Linked DNA regions of Homo sapiens: regions 1, 2, 4 and 5 are each linked to region 3. Evidence: promoter capture Hi-C in 16 types of primary human blood cells and fetal thymus (Javierre and others, 2016). All regions are on one chromosome and are shown on one strand. The core of a region is centred on a gene start or on the middle of the fragment in contact, and the rest is flanking DNA. Distances in the headings are between cores, read along the strand shown. Region 1 overlaps AKR1E2 (aldo-keto reductase family 1 member E2). Region 2 has its middle 51 kb from the start of AKR1E2. Region 3 holds the start of CALML5 (calmodulin like 5). Region 4 has its middle 54 kb from the start of AKR1C1. Region 5 has its middle 37 kb from the start of AKR1C1.

The links. Contacts are between HindIII fragments. The CHiCAGO score rates a contact against its expected background, and 5 or more counts as called.
Region 1: a contact is called between a fragment that was not itself captured here and the fragment with the promoter of CALML5 in region 3, in 1 of 17 cell types (M1 macrophages). The highest score is 5.2, in M1 macrophages.
Region 2: a fragment that was not itself captured here is called in contact with the fragment with the promoter of CALML5 in region 3 in 2 of 17 cell types (M0 macrophages and M2 macrophages); the score reaches 6.0 in M0 macrophages.
Region 4: a fragment that was not itself captured here is called in contact with the fragment with the promoter of CALML5 in region 3 in 1 of 17 cell types (M2 macrophages); the score reaches 5.6 in M2 macrophages.
Region 5: a contact is called between a fragment that was not itself captured here and the fragment with the promoter of CALML5 in region 3, in 1 of 17 cell types (M1 macrophages). The highest score is 6.2, in M1 macrophages.

What each region holds. Positions count from the first base shown.
Region 1 is chr10:4,828,001-4,830,700 of GRCh38, reverse strand. It overlaps AKR1E2 (aldo-keto reductase family 1 member E2), which reads right to left. Exons shown (of 10, transcript NM_001040177.3): 2 at 1-26. Among named protein-coding and RNA genes, the nearest start is that of AKR1E2, 3.1 kb to the right of the region's middle. The HindIII fragment of the contact is 607 bases long and covers 1,065-1,671 here.
Region 2 is chr10:4,875,695-4,878,394 of GRCh38, reverse strand. It overlaps the pseudogene AKR1C6P. Among named protein-coding and RNA genes, the nearest start is that of AKR1E2, 51 kb to the right of the region's middle. The HindIII fragment of the contact is 1,078 bases long and covers 783-1,860 here.
Region 3 is chr10:5,498,162-5,500,867 of GRCh38, reverse strand. CALML5 (calmodulin like 5) reads left to right here and starts at 1,298. Exons shown (of 1, transcript NM_017422.5): 1 at 1,298-2,171. The coding sequence starts at 1,430. The coding sequence ends at 1,870. The HindIII fragment of the contact is 4,911 bases long and covers 223-2,706 here.
Region 4 is chr10:4,907,951-4,910,650 of GRCh38, reverse strand. It overlaps the pseudogene AKR1C6P. Among named protein-coding and RNA genes, the nearest start is that of AKR1C1, 54 kb to the left of the region's middle. The HindIII fragment of the contact is 1,270 bases long and covers 629-1,898 here.
Region 5 is chr10:4,924,718-4,927,417 of GRCh38, reverse strand. No RefSeq gene overlaps it. Among named protein-coding and RNA genes, the nearest start is that of AKR1C1, 37 kb to the left of the region's middle. The HindIII fragment of the contact is 1,188 bases long and covers 801-1,988 here.

The DNA.
Region 1 (2,700 bases), core at 119-2,618, 670 kb after region 3:
GCCTCGGTCACTTTCCCTGGAGAAGCCTGCAAAACCAACAAAACAAAGTGTCTTCTCACAGTCAGAGGAATCCAACACAAATCTCCCCTTTCACCCAAGCATGTGGACAACATAATACATAAAAAATTAAGTCACTAATTTGGTACTAGTATAATCAGTCTAAAAACAGGCAATATCAGTTATGAAGGAATTTATGAATAATCTAAGTTCCAACTCCTTTACATATTTTGGGAAAAAAAAACTATAGGTTATTTTTAGTGTCTGCAGAAAACTGAGCTAGATGGTATGCTTCCTGAATGATCAAAGCAATAAAAAAGTACAGAATGAATAATAACTGAGATGCAAAGAGGCTTAAGATTTATCCTGTATACTCAGATACCACAGCGTCCAATAATAAAGGCTGAGGTGTAGACTCACACGAAGGTATCCATACAAAAAGAAGTATATAACAAAACCTAAATGAATGTATAATGCTACAAGCAATAAGGTAGTTCAGAAAAGAGAACAGTCACTCTAAATGAAGCTCAGGCAAGGGAAGGGACTAGAACTAGGGAAGACTATGGGGGTGGGCGGGTTTGCAGTCTCATTAAACTGAAGACTGACAAGGGCTTTATAGTTCACAAACCACTTTCTCACTGGAGCTTCACGGTAACCCTAGGAGTTAGAGCAGCATAATTATCTTCATTTTATAGGCAACAGATTCAGAGTGGTTGAAAGCTAATGAACCAAGTATCCATCTTAAGTTAGAAAAAGAACCCAAGAAATTGGATGGAAAGATAAAAATATGATTAAGAATAACATCAATAAAATAGAAAACAAAGATGTAACAGAGAAGATCAACAAAACCAGAAGTCAGTTCTTTGAAAAACTTCAGTAAAATAAACAGACTTCTGGCTAGGTTGATGAAGAGGCCAACTTTTTAAAAAACTGACACGAATGGACAGTAAAACATGCAGATAAAATGGACTTAAAAGAAAATATTACCAATAACTATATGTCAATAACTTGGAAAAATGAGATAAAATGGGAAAATTCCTAGAAAAATTTAACCCAAGAATAAAGCTTGAATAGTTACATAATTATTAAAGAATGCAAGGAATTCAAAAAAAAGAGAAAACCACCAGTTTCATAAAATTTTCAAGAAAAAAATCATCTCAGTTTAACACAGACTTTCAAACAACAGAAAAAGACGGACTTATCTCAACTCATTCTACAAAACTAGCATAACCCTGAATCAAAATCAGACAAAAATATTAAAAGTCACACATTCATCTTATTCATGAATACCGTTGCAAAATTCATAAGTAAAATAAAAGCAAATTGGATGCAACAATATTTATGAAAAGATAATATACCACACCCATGTTGAGTGTATCTCAGATATCTAAGGATGGTTTGATATTAGAAAATCTGTAATTCATCAATATTAACAGATTAAAGTACAAAAACAAAAGTCAACTCAATCAATATTTGTTAAGATTCAATACCAGTTTAGATTCAAAATCTAAACTCCCAGTAAGTCGGGGAAAAGAATTAATCTGATAAAGAGTATCAATATTAAAAAATATCCATCTTACATCCTTTAAAATCAGGTACAAAACAAGAATGGCCACTGTGCTGGAGGTGCTTTCCAGAAGCACCTGAACAACTAAGAAGAAGCAATTTTAAGCTTAAAGAGTGGAAAAAAAGGAAAGTAAACTACCATTATTTGCTGATGATATGATCATTTGTGTAGAAAATCCAAACAAATGTAACACAAATTAACAGAAATAACAGTACAGTTTAGTAAAGTGGCTGGAAGTGTAATGAATATAGCAGGTGAAACAAGTAGAAAATGTAACTTCAGAGAAATATAATTTCCAGTAGTATAACACACTATCAAGAACCCAATAATAATTCCAACAAAAGACATATATTCTCTTCAGGAAAAACTATACAACCATATGAAAAGATGTTAGAAATGAACCATATTCAGGACAATTTATTAACAGAGAAGAATACCATGCTTGTAGAAAAGTTAAGATTTAACATTACAAAGGTGTCAATTATCTCCAAGCTGGTCTACAGATTTAATGTAGTTCCAATCAAAACCCCAATAAAGTTTCTCATGGAACCTTCTAAGCTAGTTCTAAAACTTACAGTGGAGAGTAAGGTGCCAAAATAAAAAGCCAGGACCCAGGTACATGCATCTGTCAAAACTCATCAAATTGTACACTGTAAATCTACAACAGCAGGGAGAGGTGACCTGCCCTACTAGGTATGGGCGCTTATCAAGGAACTGTAGTAATTAAGACAGCACCGATCAGGCACACAGATGGATCAAGTGGCCCCTAATAATGAAGAGCCCAGGCTGAGGTCTCCAGACATCTCACCGCTCCCCTTGCTCTCTTGTGCTTCAGCCATCATCTTGAGAACACTCCCTAACTAACCGCACGAGGACAGGAGATGTGCGGAGCCAAGTGGAGTAGCCCCAACCATCCCAACTGAGCCCAGCCAAGGTCCACAGAGCTGCTCTCCTGACCTCCCGTGTGGGAGGAATACACTTGCTGCTGTACACCACTGAGGTCTGGTGTTTGGCCATTGATGCAGCATTTCTGGGGCAACAGATAACGGATAGGTCTGTGATGTTTATTCACTATTAAAAATAGACGAGTAAAAATAAGCCTTTGCATAGACCAGTGATGAGTGATTATGATTAAT
Region 2 (2,700 bases), core at 72-2,571, 620 kb after region 3:
GAAATGCTTATGCAAGTTTTTTTTCCCCCATTTTTCAACTGGGTTATTTGTTTGTTTTTTTGCTATTGCATTGTAGATTTTTACATAGTTTAGATATTAACCCCTTATACCTGTTATTAACAGTATGCATACTTTAAAATATGTTTAAGATAGTTGATCTCATGTCAAGTGTTCTTGCAAAAAAAAAAAAATCCAAAAACTAAAACCAAAACCACACACAAAAGGACATAAGAAAATGTTTGGAGGTGATGGGCATGTTTAATGCATCGTTTGCAGTGATGGTATCACAGGTATATGCACATGCCCAAATCCATCCAGATGTATCCATTAAGTGTGTGCATGTTTTCATATAACAATTATACATTCATAAAGCCAAAAAATGTTGAGGGATGATTTATTGGCTATCAGGGGTTGCAGCAATGAACAAAATGGGAATACTCCTTAAAAATAAAGAATACTGAGATTAAATAACTAAGAAAGGCAGAAATTGCTGCTTGCTATACGTCAACAATAAATGAGCAAGAACCAAAGATGTCACCATGGTTTTCAGTCTGGAAGACTGAAATTCTCTTTTGGCCTTGTGCACAACCTGCCATCTAAGAGCACTGAGTTAATTATTTAATCAATACTGCTATGCCCTCCATGGGCTGTCATCCCAAGTAAAGCCCTTGGGAGCTTCATGCATACAGCTGTGGATGACAATCATGGCTTGGCCTGTGTTGCTGGTATTCTAAAAGATGTCTGATACCATGCAATGCAGCACTGCATGTCCCTGGTAAGCTTGGTGTTGGTGGTTCTGTAACCTAATTCTCCTGCTTGGCATTCTGCAGGTGGAATATCACCCTTACCTCAACCAAAGCAAACTCCTGGAGTACTGTAAGTCCAAGGACATTGTCATGACTGCATATTCTGCCTTGGGGTCTGACTCAGACAAAGACTGGTAATCATCTTCATAAAGTTATTTTGTTTATTTTTTTTAGGTGGGGGTCTCATTCTGTCATCCAGGCTGGAGTGCAGGGGCACAATCACAGCTTGTTGCAGGCTTGACCTTCCAGGCTCAAGTCAGGATCTTCCCTCCTAGACCTCCTAAGTAGCTGGGACTACAGGAGTGCACCACCATGCCTGGCTAATTGTTTATTTTCATTTTTGTAGAGACAGGGTCTCACTACGTTACCCAAGCCAGTCTTGAATTCCTGGGCTCAAGTGATCCTCCCACCTTGGCCTCCCAAAGTGCTGGGATTAGAGGTGTAAGCCACGGTGACTGGCCTATAAAGTTATTTTAATCATAGATACTGTACCTTCCGAAGTAATCTCTCAATCAGCTGGCAAAATTAAAAATAGACAGCAGGAATAAATTCATCTGTAAACCTTTTACCTAACCCAGACCTACATTATAAGAACTAAATAGAACTGCCACCTTCCATTCCTTTGTCCTTCTTTGGTTATAACAAAAGATGCAAAACAGATATTGAGACAGCCAGAAGGTAATGAGGAAGGTTCTGGAGGATTAGCATCCCTGGCCAAAATAAGCAGCCCGCAAGTAAAATGGATATTCAGCCTCAGACTTGCAGCACCTCTGCCTCTCCTCTCAGGGTGAAAAAAGGAAACCCAGTTCTCCAGGAGGATCCAATACTCAATGCCATTGCTGAAAAGCCCAGGCGAACTCCAGCCCAGGTTGCCTTGTGCTACCAGCTGCAGCGCGGGGTGGTGGTCCTGGTGAAGAGCTTCAATGAGAAGAGAATCAAAGAAAACTTCCAGGTACAGGGCATGGTGGTGGCAGCAGGGGATTGACAGAGGCACATCATTTCCCCACGGTATCTGAGTTTTTGCAAAGCTCTCAAGGTATATTTGGGCAAAGCTTATCTCCTTTTACATTCTATGCATATAAGCATATAAGCACCATATTTAATTGCTTTGTCTCCCCTTGCTGCAAGGGAGAGTGTGATGGTTGGAAAGGACACTAAAGAGAAGGTCAGGAGAGGGTCCTAATCCGGGTTTTTCCCCTATAGTATGGCGCTGGGTAAGTCATCCCTTGATTTCTATAGCTGTAAAATAAAGGAATTAGATCACGTGAGGTTTGGGCTTAAAATTCTCTAGGATTTCTTTGCTATCATGATGGCTCCCCAATAAAAGTATCTGAGGGAAGATTAACCATGCCAATCTCAACTTTATAAATGGACAAATTCCCATGACATGCCACTGAATGAATCCTTGGTCCATGAAAACTCACTCATAAAACCTACACAAAGTCCTACATGGATTTGTCTGTTTGTGGAGAGGGGAGAAGAGGAACAGCAATTGCCTCAAGGATATTAAATTGATCTTCTCACGTTTCTGACAGGTTTTTGACTTCTAGCTGACACCAGAGGACATGAAAACCACAGATGGCTTGAACAAGAATATATGCCATTTGTAAATGTCTATGTAAGTAGCTTGTTTCGTTGTTGACACTAGGGAGCAGGACAGTGGGGGAATTCCATTGATTTCAGCCCACAGAAGGCAGGGTTTGTTGCTTAGGAAAGTTGTTGGAAAACATTTTTTCTTCAGACTTCATATCAGACATTTTTTTTTCTCCAAGGCTCATAGCTCTGCCCAGACAAGAGTGTGAGCAGAACTCAATAGAGACGGAAGCTCCCCGTTTAAGACTGGGCTCTCCTGGCTCCACACTGCCTCTGTGTGTCCCTCATCACTAGGCTTCCC
Region 3 (2,706 bases), core at 49-2,548:
TTGATGGGCTGAACAGGAGGGAGGTGGAATGTATAAACTTTCCCAGGGGAATAAAGGAGTTTGTTCCCTGTGTACGGGCAGGGGCTGGGGAGAAGAATGGGAATCTATGGAGATCAGAGGGGACTTGCTTGGGAAAGGCATTTTGGGGACTCCAAGGCAAATGTCCCCTCACAACTGTAGATCACATCAGTGGAAGGACTTGGGGATGGTCCCCCGAAAGCTTAGCTGTTGCTCTAAAAGTTGGTCAAGGCAAGTGGCCCTGGGGGTTTCCTTCCAGAGAACAGATCAGATTGAGGACCCCAGTAGGCTCCCAGATGGGTCTCTGTGCTTAGGGCTGATGCTTAGTAAAACCACAAGGAGGGCCAAGTTTGATGGCAGCCACCTGTTCTGCATCCTCCTGCACCTCTGCCTGCACCTTTGGGGTATGCTGGGCACTGAGGTCCCCCGTGTCTCGCTGCAGCAAAACTCCAGCTGTAACTGTTTGACGCCCTGTGAATGGAACGCCTGCCACTGAGCTCCCAGGGTGTCTGCACAGGGAACCTTGGACTTGGCGATGGAATTGAATTGTAGGAATCCCTGAGCTAGAAGGGAGTATTCTGGGGAGACAAAAAGTCTTTCCCTCTCCTCTGAAACTGCACGTCACATGTTCACTTGATAAACACCATCTCAGCACCAGCTATGGCTCTGAAGGCAGCCCTGGTCCCTTGCTTCCTTGAAGTTATAGGCAGTGAGCCCCATCCTCTGTCTCTAGACCCTGGCCTGGGAATCTCATGATACCCACAGTTGTGCCCTGGCAGAATCAACACTACCACCCACTTCCCTTCCACCAGCCCCAGCCTCAGGGCAAGAGCTAGGCAGTAGCACTGGAGAGAGGGGTACGGAAACACCAAACACTGGGGCCTGCTGTGCCCTTGAGGGAGCCCTCTTCAAGCCACCTCCCCCTCCAGTCTCAGTCTTTGTGAAGTTGCAGAAGCTGTCTTGAACCCCTTGGCTTGGTCAGGATCTCCGAGAATCAGCTGCAGGGGAAACTATCCCTTGGGCAGAATGTTCCTGGAGGGAGGTGGTTGCTATCAAGGCCAGGCGGGGTTGGCAGGCTAGCCATCCGATACCCCGACCCCATGGCAGTTCCCACCTGGCACCTGACAGCTCTCCCAACTCCCATTCCTGCATTTCCTGTCTGCAGCTGATCTGGCCCTCCCTGGGAGGAGGCTCTCACCCCAGGGCATTTGGAGGGTGGGGAGCCTCCCTCCTCCCTTTGTTCCGATTGCAGAAAAGGAGGGGGTTCCCATGCCAAGGCAGAACTGTCTGGGACAGACGCTGCCCGGATCCCTGCGGCTGCCTGCACTCTGGACCACGAGCTCTGAGAGCAGCAGGTTGAGGGCCGGTGGGCAGCAGCTCGGAGGCTCCGCGAGGTGCAGGAGACGCAGGCATGGCCGGTGAGCTGACTCCTGAGGAGGAGGCCCAGTACAAAAAGGCTTTCTCCGCGGTTGACACGGATGGAAACGGCACCATCAATGCCCAGGAGCTGGGCGCGGCGCTGAAGGCCACGGGCAAGAACCTCTCGGAGGCCCAGCTAAGGAAACTCATCTCCGAGGTTGACAGCGACGGCGACGGCGAAATCAGCTTCCAGGAGTTCCTGACGGCGGCGAAGAAGGCCAGGGCCGGCCTGGAGGACCTGCAGGTCGCCTTCCGCGCCTTCGACCAGGATGGCGACGGCCACATCACCGTGGACGAGCTCAGGCGGGCCATGGCGGGGCTGGGGCAGCCGCTGCCGCAGGAGGAGCTGGACGCCATGATCCGCGAGGCCGACGTGGACCAGGACGGGCGGGTGAACTACGAGGAGTTCGCGAGGATGCTCGCCCAGGAGTGAGGCTCCCCGCCTGTGTCCCCCTGGCTGCGCTCTGAGCCTTCAGGGCCACCGCCCGCTGCTGCTTTTGTGCTGGGACTCTCCGGGGAAACCTGGTCGGTGGATGGGAAACTGCCTCCCCCTGGGAGGAAGGCTTTGCGCTCCGGGGCCTGGATGCGGCGCCCTCGGGCCGCCTGCGAGCCCCTCTCTGCCTCCAGACCTTGGGCAGAAGGAGGCCTCCTTGGGCCTGGTCCCCCTTTGCCCTGCAGTGGAATGAGGGCCCCTCAGCCCCGCATTGATCTAAATAAAGGACTGCCGAGTTCCATGTGTGCTTGGTGTTTGTGGGGCGGCTGCCTCCGAGGGCCCCCACCTGCTTCCAGGGTTCCTTCCAGCCCACCCCTCTCACCTGCGGTGGCAGAACTGCCTGGAGCAGGCCCCAGGGGCAGCTCCTGCCTCCCCTGACGCGGAGCAGAGGGCAGGTGGGCAGAGGATGTGTGAGGATGGTGCTGGGCGGTGTCTGTGGCTCCAGGTTCTGCCTGAGCTGCTGGTGAGGACCTGGGCACGTGTCCCGCACAAACAGGAGCGGGCGCCTCGCATGGACAGACGGAGCCCAGCTGCCAGCCTCTGCACGCAGCCTGCCTCTCTTCGGCTGCAAATAATATACGTGTACGTCTGTGTGTGCATCTGTGTGTGTGTCTGTGTGTCTGTATGCGTGTCTCTGTATGTGTGCATCTGTGTGTAAGTCTCTGTATGTTTGTGTGTCTGTGTGTCCTTGTGTGCATCTGCATGTGTATGTGTGTATCTGTGTGTGTGTCTGAGTGTGTCTCTGTGTCTATGTGTCTGTGTGTGTCCATTTGTGT
Region 4 (2,700 bases), core at 14-2,513, 590 kb after region 3:
AAATGAGAAAAAAACCTTTTTCCAGGAAAGCAAGAGCCAAGAAGAAAAAACATAAAGGCCTTTTAAATATACCTGTAACTTGGACATTCACTTTTAATTAAGCTGAGCGCTCTTTAAGAAAACCCTTTATATCCCTGTTACCCCACTTTAGCTGTGCCAAGAGGCCAATATTTCTGGCTTTCAAACTTTACTAAAGGCTCAGGAAAAGGAAAATCCAAGGCAGTTTGTAGAATGGAAGACAATCAACAAATGGCAAAAGTCACACAGATATCAAACCAGAAAAGACTCATTCCCTAAGCCAGGATTGAACGTAGGCTGCCATTGCAAAATGGCAGAAGCTAAAATAAAGCACTACCATGTGGTTACAGGTCACAATTCCAAGGATGTAAAACAATATGGAGGCCTGCAGCAAAGTTTGCTGTTGACCATACAGAAAGACATGCAGAGCACACCAGATTGGCTGCAGCTTAAGACCAACCTTACAAATCCTTTTTTATAATTCAAACTTTACAGAGAATATAAACAGTGACAGCTGGGGCCCTGGCCTAGTAAAACGTTTTCTAAAAGGGGGAAAAAAGGTCTCACTTAAAAGTTAACTCCTGACCTGGTGGAGAAAAGAAAAAAAGCTTAAAGTGCAGGGGTGGGAAGATGTTTTTTAATTATGCAAATGGTTCCTACAACAGAGAGAGAAATTTAATTACTGTCTGATGGAGCTGGACCCCTTGGCCAGGGGTGGGGAAGACTCCGTAGATGCATTGCAGGGAACACTGGCCAGCTTGCCACATGGGGCCTGGGTCCCTGAGGCCACTTTGGGGCCCAGGCAGTGGCTGTGGCTCATTTCTGCCCAGCATGGCCGTTAGACACCACACGCACCTGTGGCAGTTATGGCCATGCATCCCAGTCAGGAGCGAAGGGGGGCAGGGAGCACCTGTGGCCATTGAGGTAGGGTGGTACACAGTTTCCTCTATCCTCATAAGAAGTCCGAGTACAAAAAGGCTTAGAAACAAAAGGGAAAATGATTTTTTTGGTTCACATCTTACTCACCCTTCCTCATGTCCCTGTACACGCCACCAAAATGATGCAGAATTTTTGCTTCTTAGTTCAGCTAAATCCCGGTTCTTGTGTCATGACCAGGATAAATGAGGCATGTGGACACATTGAAGGGTGAAGAGAGCAGAATGTATGGGCAAATAGGAAAAAGGAGAAAAAAAAAGCTGTCAGCAAATTGAGAGGGACTCCTGCTAACATGCTACCACCTCACAGATTGAGTACCAGGCCAACACACAGGACCAGAAGAGGCCAGGCTCCTCCTGCTGCACAGGCCATGAACTTCCTGTGGCTCCACCTTATTCTCCCAGTGCACAGGCGGGTCCCCAGTCCATTGTGGGCATGTGCAGACAACACCCTGGGCAGGTTCCCTCATCTGCACGAAAGCATCTGATGTAAACACTTGCGGAGTAGGTCGGAGATTCTCTGGGGACTCCCTCGACCCCCACCTTATCTGCGTCCTGCATCTATCAATACCACATAAGCCTCTGGGAAACTCCACTGTACGTTCACAAAAGAATGAGAGTAAAAAAGAAATAGGTTCTTAGTATTATCATAAGAATAATTTTTACATCATGCCCCCAGAAGGATTCTAGGGACCCCATAGGTTCTGGTACCAAACTTTGAAAACCACTACTTTAAAGTTTAGATAAAACCAACTCCCTATAGTCCTTTGTCACTACAGAACCTGCCTCTTTAATATTTGAAATTAGACAGATGCACTACAGTAAATATAAGTAGTCCCAGAAGAGAAAAGTGGTAGGGAAAAGCAACACAATACCCAGTTTGAATTACTATAGGGAAAAGAAAGTCTGCACTCTTGGTATAGGTAAGTGTTCATGAAGGAAGCTTGGTTTTGACACAGTAGGAGGTTGAGATTGAAGGAGTCGCTGTGGGTAATATTGGATCTTGAGTGAATTAATTCTTCAGTCACAGTTGTGTCTAGAGAAGTAGCTCTTTAATAAGGTAGGCATATTTAAAGCCCCTAATGACAGAACAGGTGATATTTCTCATATAGAATCAATACATATAATTATCTTGCTCTCTGAACACGTTTTCTTGCTATAGGAAAACTAGAAAGATGAGCTGAAAGATAGGGAACAGAATGCTGAAAGGGAAGGGAAGGTTGATATTGGAGGCAATTTTGAAAAACTTCAAAAAGACACCAAGCATTAGATCTTACCTTGTCAGAGAATCACTTAACACAGCCTTTTGACAGTTGGTTAGAGTAGGTTCAAAACACGTTTTTGTGCCTGGAGAGAAATAATATCTACAATTAATTTTGCTTAGTTTTACACCAAGTTGATTGACTGTATCCTACCAATTAAAACACAGAAAGTAGTTTTTTCTGAATATTTACACATTGATTAAAATTTTGAAAAATCAAGTTTTCTTAAACAGTTTGTGGTGAAATTAAGAATTTTATATACCTGTAATTGCCCAGTGGGTTAACCTTGCCCACTCCCTAGACAGAGTCTATTTATCAAGACGGGAGAATTGCAATGGAGAAAGAGTAATTCCCGCAGAGCCCACTGTGTGGGGGACTGGAGTTTTATTGTTTATTATTAGATCAGAGTTTGTCAAGATAATCTAGCAGGTAGAGGCTGGGGAAGTGGGGAGTGCTGCTGATTGGTCAGGTTGGAGATGGAATCA
Region 5 (2,700 bases), core at 145-2,644, 570 kb after region 3:
TTTAAGGTTAACATGGTATGTGAGGTTCTGTTTCTGTCATAGTATTGTTTCCTAGTTGTCTTTGAGTTTCAATTATGTAATTACTTTGTAGGATCTGTGAGATTTGTACTAATGTGCCCTTTTATGATGATGTGTATTGTCCCCTAATTTCCATGTTTAGAATTTCTTTCAGCATTTCTTCTAGGATTGAGCTAATGGTAATGAATTCCCTTAGTAATTGTTTGTCTGGAAAAGAATATTCCTGTATCATTTTGGAAGTTTAGCTTAGCAGCATATAAAATACTTGGCTGCCTTTTGTTCTTTAAGGAGGATGAATATAGGCCTGAAGTATATTCTGGCCCGTAGGGTTTCTGCTGAGAATTCAATTTTAGTCTGATGGGATTTCCTTTACAGGTGATTAAGTGTTTCTCTCTTGCAACTCTTAGAATTTTTTTCTTTATGTTGACTTCAAATAGTCTGATGACTATATGCTGTGGTGAGGTTCATCTTGAAATGTATTTTCCAAGAATTCTGTGATCTTCTTGCATCTGAATGTCTAAATGTTTCCCAATACCAGGGAAGGTTTTCTGAAGTATATCCTCCGAAGCGTTTTCCATACTTTTTAGTTCTTTTTCTTCTCACTCTGGAATACTTACATTTCTGAGGGATGGTCACTTCATAAAATTCCCTATTTCTCAAAGACTTTGTGGATTTTTTAAAATTAATTTTTCTATATTAATGTCTGATTGAGTTAATTTCAAAGACTTGTCTTCCAGCTCTAAAATTCTTTCTTCCTCTTGGTCTAGCCTATTGTTAAAGCTTTCAACTGTATTTCACAATTCCTTCAATGAATTTTTTTATTTCCAGAAGTTCTGATTCTTTTTTAAATGATGTCAATATATTCTTCCATATTCTGAATTGTTTTTTTCTGATTTCTATGTGTTAGTTTTCAGCTTTCTGTTTGGTCTCATTGAGTTTCTATAACTCAATATTTTGAATTATTTATCTGGTATTTCAAAATTTCATTTAAGTTAGGATCTATTGCTGGAGAGTTAATGTGTGATCCTTTGAGGGTGTTAAACAGTCTGTTTTTTCATACTTTCAGAGTTGTTTCCTGTTTTTTTCTCAATTGCATAAACTATTTTACCCTGTTATGTTTTGCATTTGCTTTTTTTGGATGTCGAGCTTATCAGGGAGTTTATCTTATTCCCTAGTGCAGTGGGCTTGCATCAGCAGATGTCTTTTTGTGTTGAGTGATTCAAGTTCCAGGCCAGTAGATGGTTCTATGGGAAAGAACTGGCTATGGCTGATACAGATGTGTATATATTGGATCCCTGTTAACTGAGAGAAGCTATCTGTGTAATAAGACATTGATCTGACCTGTGGAAGGCACAGCCATCTAATCTTCCTGCTTAGCCAAGTAGAAGGCCCGCTTACAGGTTACACAATGGCAGACACAAGCACCAGCAGGAGGAAGAAGTTTCGGCGGGCAGATATCAAGTTCCTAGAGGTATGCCGAAGCATGAAGCTGGGAAACCTCTGCTCTTCACCCAGTTTAACAGAGGTTATTTGGGTTGTTGTTGTTGTTGAGTTTCTTAGAATTTTTTTTTTCTTTTTGAGACAGAGTCTTGCTCTGTCGCCCAGGCTGGAGTGCAGTGGCACAATCTCAGCTCACTGCAGCCTGCACCTCCCAGGTACAAGCAATTCTCGTGCCTCAGCCTGCCAAGTACCTGGGATTATAGCCATGAGCCACCCCCCTGGCTAATTTTTGTATTTTTAGTAGTGATGGGATCTCGCCATGTTGACCAGGTTGGTCTTGAACTCCTGACCTCAGGTGATCCACAAACATCAGCCTCCCAAAGTGCTGGGATTACAGACATGAGCCACCACGCCTGGCCATAAATTTTTGATATGAGTTTTCTATTGGATTTACAGTTTGTAAATATTTTCTTCCATTTTGTAGGTTGTCTGTTCACCCTTTTGATTATTTCTTTTGATTTACAGAAGCTTATTTGTTTTATTAAGCCATATATGTCTGTTTTTATTCTCTTGTTTGTGTTCTTGAGGTCATACTCTTGAATTATTTCCCTAAATTTAGTTATTACTTTTTCCCCAAAGAATTTAGAATTTTCCTTACATTTTCTGATAGCAGTTTATAGTTTCAGTTCTTACATTTAAAACTTTAATTTATTTTGAGTTGTTTTAAAACTTTGCAAAGCAATTTGGAAATATAGGCAATATTGGAAATGTCTAACTTTTGTGAAAAACATCAATTTCATATTATGGTTTTAGGGGTCAGGATTGTAATCTCATCAACATGTGATTTACTGCAAAAGGTCTGTTTAGGTCACTCATGTTAATTTCCTTGCCCTTGGCATGTGGTTGCAGTGGGAAGAGAGCTGCTGTGACCCAGTCCTAGCCAATGCCACATAAGAGGGACTATGCTAGGGGCTTCTAGGAAGGATTCCTCACTTCTAGGAAGAAATTTTTAAAATAAGGTGGCCTTTCTTCTGCAAGTAGCTATTGTCCTGCTGCAGTGTGAGTTCAAAAATTGCTTCAGCAGCCTCCACCCACCCTGAAGATAACATCAATACACAGAAGAAGAAGAGCTGGAGAAGATGAGAGTGTCTGTGTGTGTGCCTGTGTGTGTATGTGTGTGCACCTGTGTGTGTGTGCACCTGTGTGTATGTGTGCCTGTGTGTGTGTGTGCCTGTGTGTATA